Linked DNA regions of Homo sapiens: regions 2 and 3 are each linked to region 1. Evidence: promoter capture Hi-C in 16 types of primary human blood cells and fetal thymus (Javierre and others, 2016). All regions are on one chromosome and are shown on one strand. Each heading gives the region's core, a stretch centred on a gene start or on the middle of the fragment in contact. The rest is flanking DNA. Distances are from core to core; before and after follow the strand shown.

The links. The method cuts DNA at HindIII sites, captures the fragments that hold promoters and counts their contacts. A CHiCAGO score of 5 or more calls a contact.
Region 2: a contact is called between a fragment that was not itself captured here and the fragment with the promoter of MGAT3 in region 1, in 1 of 17 cell types (activated CD4 T cells). The highest score is 5.1, in activated CD4 T cells.
Region 3: a contact is called between a fragment that was not itself captured here and the fragment with the promoter of MGAT3 in region 1, in 1 of 17 cell types (M0 macrophages). The highest score is 5.4, in M0 macrophages.

What each region holds. Positions count from the first base shown.
Region 1 is chr22:39,455,591-39,458,303 of GRCh38, reverse strand. MGAT3 (beta-1,4-mannosyl-glycoprotein 4-beta-N-acetylglucosaminyltransferase) reads right to left here and starts at 1,292. Exons shown (of 2, transcript NM_002409.5): 1 at 747-1,292. RefSeq lists silencers at 167-296, 307-576, 1,307-1,366. The HindIII fragment of the contact is 6,875 bases long and covers 1-2,713 here.
Region 2 is chr22:40,008,602-40,011,304 of GRCh38, reverse strand. The region is part of intron 1 of FAM83F (family with sequence similarity 83 member F); the gene reads right to left. Among named protein-coding and RNA genes, the nearest start is that of FAM83F, 15 kb to the right of the region's middle. The HindIII fragment of the contact is 1,353 bases long and covers 674-2,026 here.
Region 3 is chr22:40,033,336-40,036,035 of GRCh38, reverse strand. FAM83F (family with sequence similarity 83 member F) reads right to left here. Exons shown (of 5, transcript NM_138435.4): 5 at 1-2,700. Among named protein-coding and RNA genes, the nearest start is that of TNRC6B-DT, 9.8 kb to the left of the region's middle. The HindIII fragment of the contact is 9,682 bases long and covers 1-2,700 here.

The DNA.
Region 1 (2,713 bases), core at 43-2,542:
GCGCGGCATCCCTTCCTGCTGCACCCCAGCTCAGGAACCCCACCATACACACACCCAGGCGCACTCCCCTCCCCACTCCCGGTTCCAGAACTCACTATTTGCAGATATTTATAGCGCCCTCCCTCAGCCAGGTTCCCTCCCCCGCCCTGGGCAGAGCAATGCAAGGAGCCGGGGGCCCCCACCCCGGTAAATGGCCGGGGGCCCTCTCCACATTTGCCTCTGCCTGGTCCCCAGGGGTAGCTACGGCCGCAGCCCCCGCACCCGCCCAGCCCCCGACTGCGCTTGGGCCTCGGCTGCCGCCGCCGCAGTCTGGGGTCGGGGGTGGGGAAGGCGGGCGCGGAGGCCTCCCACCCCAGCCCCGCGCCGCGCCGGAGGTTGTGGGGGAGCCGCGCCGGAGGCTGGGGGGTGCCGCGCACAAAGCACGGCTCGAGCCCCGCGCCTCGGGGACGTCCCCCGCCCGGCCGTGGGAGGGGGTCGGGCGCTGAGGCTCTGCCCTCCGGGGACCGGGGAGCTCGGAGGAGCGGCGGGTAGGGGGAGGGGGCCCGCGCCGAGCGGCTTCCCCGGCATCCCGCCCCCACCGCGGCCTCCGGGCCCCCAGCCCCAGTGCGCCCGCGCCCGCCCCCTAAGGTCACGCTCGGGGAGTGGGCCGCGGAGCCGGGCGGGGGGCGCCAAGCGCAGCGCGGGAGGGCGGGCAGCGCGGGGATAGAGGGGCCGCGGCGCCCCCCAGGACGCCGGGGTCAACTCACCCATCGCCCGCTGGGTCTCAGCAACGGCGGCAGCAGCGGCGGCGGCGGCTCCGCGGCCCCCGGGGTCCCCGGCGGGGAGATGCTGGCGTCCGCCGCAGCCTCTCGCCCCATCCCGGGCTCCGGCGGCAGCGGCTGCGGCGGGCGCCCGGCATCGCAGGCAGCGCGGCCCCGGCCCGGCCCCGATCCCCTCCCCCCACCCCCACTTCCACCCCGTCCCGGGGACCCGGCGCGGCCGCTCGGCTGCACCCCGGGGCGGCGGCGGGGGCCCGGCGAGCGGACGGGCGCGGGGGAGGGACCGCGGCGGGCGCGCGGGGGGCGCGGAGGCGAGGCCGAGCGCGGCGCGCAGGGGTGCCCGCTCCCGCCGGCTCAAGCGGCTCCGGCCCCCACCCCGCCCCCTCCGCAACCCCCTCCCCTCCCCCGCCAGCCGGGCTCCGCCGCCGCGCCGGGCCGGGGGCGCCTCGCACCGCAGACTCCGGCCGCCGCCGCCCCGCGCCGCCCGCGCGTGCTGGATCGAGTGTGTGCGTGTGCGAGCGAGTGTGTGTGAGTGCGAGTGTGCGCGCGCCCCTCCTGTGACCGTGCGTGCGCCGGCCCACGGCCCGGGGCGGCCTGCGCGGGGGCGTGTGCGGGGAATGCGGGTAGTTCGGAGTGCGGGCCTGGTGTGCGTGCGGGGCAGCAAGTCCCGTTCTGTGTATGCGTGGACGGGTGCGTTCCGCAGCGTGCCCGGGTCGGTGTGACTCCGTGTGCCCGAGTCTGTGCCTGTGTGTGCATGGACGTGCAGATCCGTGTTGCGGTGTGTGCGTGGATGCGCCTGTGCCCGCGTGAACCTGGGCCGGGATTTCGCATAGGCATCTGTGACCATGTGCAGAGGCCTGGGCCTGTGATGTGTGCACGGTGCCGGGCCTGTTACGGTGTCTGCAGAGTCTGTGTGTCTGCTTGGGGCGTGGGTGACCGCTGTACACCGGCCTGTGTCCTTCCGTCCGACCCCCTCCGTCCCTCACATGCCCGAAGCCACCTGCGCACTCCTGGGGTAACTGGGGGGGCCTCCCCTCCCCCGCCCCCCTCACCCGGCCACCCTAGGCCCGGTCGGCCCTGCCAACCCTCTTGAGCCTACTCTCCTGCCACTTGCCCACCAGCGGTTCTCCGAGGGCCCACCGTGTCGTGCCCTGGCTCCTCGTGGCCTTGCTCTAGGCCATTCCTCTCAGGGCTCAGAGGCGTCCCCCACGTGTTTCCCGCCTTTCAAGTGGTTCCGTTCTGGGGCCTACAGAGCAGCCACTTCCTCCCGCGGTGCGAGGCACAAGGCATTGTGGGTACGCAGCAGACATCTCTGCGCCGCCATCGTCGAAGGTGCAGGGATGCGCTACCTATTCTATATCCCAGCGAATGTGCTCCAGAATAGTCCCAGAGGCCTTTGCTGAACCATCCGGGCTGCCTAGGGCTGGTCTACCTGCTCCAGGTGCCTCCGTGCCCAGCTTCATCCATCCTTGCTGAGGAGGCAGAGTGATCCTACTCCAACATTCACTTGAGCAGGTCACTCTCCTGCCTGCACCTTCAATGGCTCCCACTTGCCCTCAGCTTAAGTTCAGTGCCTGGGCGGGGCACAGGGAGCCCCTGGTGACCTAGTCTTGCCCCCTTCTTCAACGTCACCCTCACTGCTCTTTTCTTCCTGGAGGCTCTCTCTAAGCAAGGGTGGGCAAACCATTTGCTTTAAGAGATTGATTGTAAATCTTTTAGGCTTTGCCAGCCATATGGTCTCTGTCCCAACTACTCAACTCTGCCATCGTAGCATAAAATCAACCATAGACAATACGTAAAAGAATGAGCCTGGCGGTGTTCCAATAAAACTTTATGGACACAAAAATTTGAATTTCGTGTCATTTTCACGTGTCCAGAAACATTTTTTGATGTTTTCCCAACCATTTGAAAGTGTAAGATCCATTCCTAGTTCCTATCACTCTAAGCACATTCCA
Region 2 (2,703 bases), core at 101-2,600, 550 kb before region 1:
CAGGAGAATGGCTTGAACCCGGGAGGTGGAGGTTGCAGTGAGCTGAGATCATGCCACTGCACTCCAGCCTGGGCAACAGAGCAAGACTCCATCTCAAAAAACAAAACAAAACAAAAAAGCACACTGCATAACATAACACTGCATACTTTTCAAGGATACAAAGATGTCTGAGGACATATGCTGAACACATAAGGGTGGCTGCCTGTGGAAGGAGAAAGGAGTGGGAGGGAAGGAGAAAGGTAAAGTATGAGGCCTTTCAAGGCTCTCTGGTGGCATTGTGCCGTGAACTAAAGTGCACAATCAGCTCTTTGCACCTGGGGTCCAAAATAGCCAACCAACCAAACCAAAACCACCTTCGAGTCCTCCAGCTGGGCTGGCACAGTTCAGGGCAGGTATGGGGTAGGTATAAGGGTGAAGGTACACGGGCTGGATACGGAGGGTTTGAACACAATGTACAGAGTTCTGGCTTCATTCCACCAGCAATGCAGTTTCCAGGGCTCTGATACTTGATCGCCATCTCCTAGTGCTGATAGTTTATCTCCCACGAGCTGTCTAGGCAAGAGTTCACTGTCCTCTCATTTCTGAACACTCCAAGGTGTCCAGTTTAGAGTGGACTCATGTCGCTGAGGACAGCTTGACCGGTTTGCAGAAGCATGTCTCAGGTTCACAAGCTTACTTTTGCTTTGTGGTTGAAAAATTAAGCAGGGAAGCTGGCCTGTCCTAGCCCCACCTGCCTAAGGATGTCAGGAGAGGCAGCAGTCCCCACAGCCTGGCTTTCGCGAGTCGGACTGTGACGCCCTGATGCGAGCCAGCCATCTGTGTCACTACCAATTAAACAATGAAATATCTGAAGTAGAAAAAAAAATCAATTGCTGGCTGACTCCTGCAATCTAGTTGTGGAGAAGTGATAATTACCCTCCGCTTTGGTCTCTGAGGGCCCTGCTTTGACATTCAGCTCCGCAGTGTCAGGCCCAGGGGAACCAGCTCCCCAGTCTCTCCGCTTGGGTCTTTCACTGAGCACGTGATTCCCCACACCGAGCGAACTTCAAAGCTCCCAGTGTAGATGGAAAATCGGGTTTAAAAACATGATATCATGGGCTCAGAACCCAGGGAAGCCGATTTTGTTGGGGGAGGAAATCACGCCCCCTCCAGCTGGCTGCCCACCCCCGGCGTCCTTTACCTGGTTACCTACTGACGTGCAATGCCTGGGGAGAGAGGTTGATTCGAGGCGGCAGCAGTTTCTATAAGCTGTCGCAGGCGCATTGGCAGACAGCTTCTGATGTTGTAAGACTTCTCATTGGGTGTTTGATGAGCTCAACGTCTCCTCATCTGACATCCTGCCTGGGCGGCAGGACGGGGAGTGAAGGCAGGGAGGGAGCCTCCAAATGCCCCTCTCCTGCCATTCAGCTTTAATTAAACTGCCGGCATTTCCAATTCTCTTTCTGGACTCCGTAATTACCGTTAGATAACAAAAACGACAAGAGGGCTCCACCTGGCCCCTGCACCCCACGTGTGTTTGGATGACCCAGACTAGAGAAGGCATGGCTCTGCCAGGTGTCCACAACCACAGAGCCGACTGCAGCTTGGACGTGTCCCTCAGCCACACAGGCACTCCCCAGATCAACATCCTCCTAGTCACTCTGGCCAGAAGCCCAGGCCTCCTCCTCCTCCCCACCGACCAAATCCCATCAGTCACTGAATCCAGCAGGCCCCACCCCGGGCACCTTCTCAGGGTTAATCCTTTCTGTCCCCACTGGTACCGCCCCAGCTCGGACTCTCCTCCTTTCCTACCATGCTTTGATGAGCTTCCTAACTGCTCTCTCCTACTCACCTCTGCCCTCCAATTCATCCTGCACAGCAGGATGCAAACTGAGATGCATGGCCAGAGAAAGACAACACCATCCGTCCCCTTGCCCTGCTGACGTGGAGCTCAGGACTCGGGCGGGTGCGGCTGCTGTTGCCTGCAAAGAGCCCCAGCTTCACCCCTTCTGTGGGTGTGAAAAAGCAAAAGGCCACAGGCCAAGCTTGCTGATCTCGGGGGGGCCTTTTGGTGACAGTCACTTATCCTGGGGAAGGAAGGGAAGCAGCTAGGGACACTTTCCCACTGATTACCTACCCATGTGCGCCTGGGGCCGAGTCGCCTCCCACACCTGCCCTGCCTGCCTCCCAAGGGCTGTTGGAAGGCTCGGATGAGATCATGCCCACGAAATCCCACAAAAACGCTGTGCAGTTATGAGGGATCGTTATAAGGCAAATGGGGGGAACTCCCCACATCTGAAGCCCTAAGTCTCTCAGGGTGGAAAGGACAGCAGCTGAGCAAACAGGTCAAACTGCTGTCTCCCAGAATGGCCGTCTGTGTGGCAGCCCAGGGGAGTTAGTCTATCTGGGACCAGAGGGCAATTCTTCCCTTTCCCACAGAGGGTAGAGCTGGGTCTGCCTGCAGCCTCTGACTCACACATCTCCAGCTGTGGAATCTCCTTTTCTGATCTCCCCAAAGAGAGGATCAAGGTCTATGGGGCAGGTTGTCAAACTTCAGTGTGTAAAGAATCACCTGGGAGCAGGGATGTGGGTATGCGTATTGAAGATGCAGATTCTAGGGCCCCATCCTCAAAGACTCGAATTCAGCAAAGGCCCAAGAAAATGCATTTTAACAGCAGCCTCCGTCTTCCACCCCCACTCAGGTCACTTGAATGCACGAGGGGG
Region 3 (2,700 bases), core at 124-2,623, 580 kb before region 1:
TTAAAAAAGCAAAAAAGAAAGAAAGAAAGAAAAAAGAAACCTGAACTCTGTAGCTTCCTTCAGGTGAACAAGCAGTTAGCCCTGTGTGCCAACGATTCAATATGAAAGTGGTAAATTTCACAGGGAATTAAAGGGGAGGATCTAGGAGAGAAGATCCCAAAAGGAAAATAAGCCACTGGAGGTCACAACCCTGGAGGCTCCTCCGATGCCCAGCTGTTTGCGTCAGCCCCTGTGCTAGGTGCTTCACGTGGTTACTCTGGAGAGTCGTCTCGAGATCATCCCCATTTGACACATGAGGAAACAGGAAAGTTCGGGGATGTGAAATTGCTTGCTGGGGTCATTAGCTGTTCGGTGGCAGAGATAGGATTTCAGCCCTTGCCTGCCTGTTCTGAAGCCTGTCCTCTCTATGCCATGCGCCCCCGCCAAGGTCATGCAGGCATACCACTTCAATACCATGCCTTCCTCGCTCACCATGGATCCCCAGGCCGGGCACCCAGCAAATATCCACCGGATGAATAAATGGGTGCAGGCCTGCAAGCACTGCAGCGAACCTTTCCCTGTGCAGTCGCCTAACTTCCAAGACACTTCCAGGAAGAGATGAGGCAGAGAGTCAAAGCTGCGAGCAGGAAATAAGAATCATGACGCATGGTTTTCTGCACACCATGGGCTCTTTTCCCCTTGCTTGTACCCACAGCACTGTGGGCACCGCGGACATACTGCCTGTTCTTGCCTTTTGCTCCTTTCCTCCCCCAGCTCCCACGCGCTTGCTGGCTTCCGTGGCAGGCCCTAGCCCATCTCCTTCTATTACGTGGACATCTGCTCCTAAAGCTGCTTTTCAGTGGCTGCAGGCAATGCCCTAACTTCTAGCCATTTTTCTAAATGAAAACTTGATTCCAGCCGGCTGTCACTGTGAAAGTGCTCTAGGACGGTCCAGATAACCAGATTCTAGCCCTTCCTGCGACTCATTGGGTGACTTTGGACAAATTTCCTCACCTTGGGCCCTCCTTTCTATGCTAGCTTTTGAAAGGAAGCATGCAGACAGGGCCATCCTTGAGCAGCTAGAGGCCTGCAGGCCCAGTGCCACCTAGTCTGGACCACCCAGGAGATGAAGACCATGCACTTAGGACAGATGAAGAAAGGAGAAGCCTTCCTAGAGGAAAGGATTAGATCAGGAGGGACTTTTGATAAACCCAGTCCTTAAGAAATTAAATCACAGCAGAACCCCATTTGGCATATACGGTATTAGAAGTCAGGAATGAGACAGAAAGGGTCATGATCAATTCTAGAACCTCTATGACACATCCTGTTTATTCACCTGGCTAATTCTCTGTACTGAATGGCAGTCAAGTCTTCAATCATTTAACAAATAGGTATTAAGCATATATTGTGGCTGCAGAGCTGAGCCAGGCAGGTGAGGCACCAGTGCTCACAAAGCCCGCTCTCCAGGCTCAGGAACCCCAAGGACAGATGGGTACCTATCGTGCCAGGCAGCAGCACATGGCATCTAGAAGCAGGGCTTTCCTCAGTCCCTAGCTGGGAGAGCAGAAGCTGCAAGGGGAAGGGCGAGAAGTCCAGGCCTGCCTAACTGTGCAAGGTCTCTGGGCTGATCTCATGGTTACTTAGCCCCAGAACATACTCACGGCTGTGCCTGCCCTTCTTGCCCTTCTCCTCACTCAACCTTGGACTGGTTCTGCTCACTGAGCTGGGGGTACCTGATTTGCAGCAAACCTCCTGCCCCTGGAACAGCAGTGCAGACGATCAGCAGCAGCCACTACGTCCTTTGGGCAGGGAGGCAGGAGTGTGGCGCACTGCCAGATGAGAAATTGCATCCCTAGCGCACGGCAGGGCTAATTAGCTGCTAAGGGGGCTTTGTCAATGTTCACTGAGAATGTGGTCATGACAGGCAGGTAGCGATTCCTGCTTGGCCTGACTTGAGTGTGGAAGGCTCTCTGCTGTCAGCACTGGCTGCTTTTGGAGGTGGGTCCACCGCTGGGCACACACAGGTATGTGCAGTGGTACTGTCTGTGCAGGACGTAGCTGAGCCTGAAGGAAGAGGGACAGACTGGCAGGAAACCTGACAGGGAGCTGAGTGGAGTGAGGCAGATGTGTGTACATAAACACACCTGTCATGGGGAATATAAGGTGGTAAAGAACTAAGAAAGATAACCAGAACAGAAAGGAAAGATGCTACTGCGTCTCCCAGGAAGCAGCGTCTCAGGCAAGTCAGCCAACCTCTCTGGGCCAGGGTGCTGTGTCCAAGGTACCCAGGGCAGAGAGTGCATTGAAACACTTCGGAGAAGTGGCCTGTGCAGGCCACCAGGTCAGGACTGTGAAGAAAAGAGCCAGTGCTCTCAACGGGGGCACTTTTACCCCCCAGGGGACATGTGGTAACATCTGGAGACATTTTTGGTGGTCTCATCTGAAGGAGTGCTAGTGGCATTTAGTAGGTGGAAGCTAGGGATGTTGCTAAACGTACTATAATGCACAGGGCAGCCCCATCCCCAACAGAGGATTCTGCAGCTCCAAAGCATCACCATTGCCAAGACCCTGAGCTCAAGGAACAGACTCAGACCTGCATTCTCTGTGACGTGGGATCTGGGGAGAGTTGTGTGCCTCCTCATCTGAAAGATGGGGATAATGAACCTTAGCCAGGCTGGGCGTGGTGGCTCATGCCTGTAATCCCAGCAGTTTGGGAGGCCA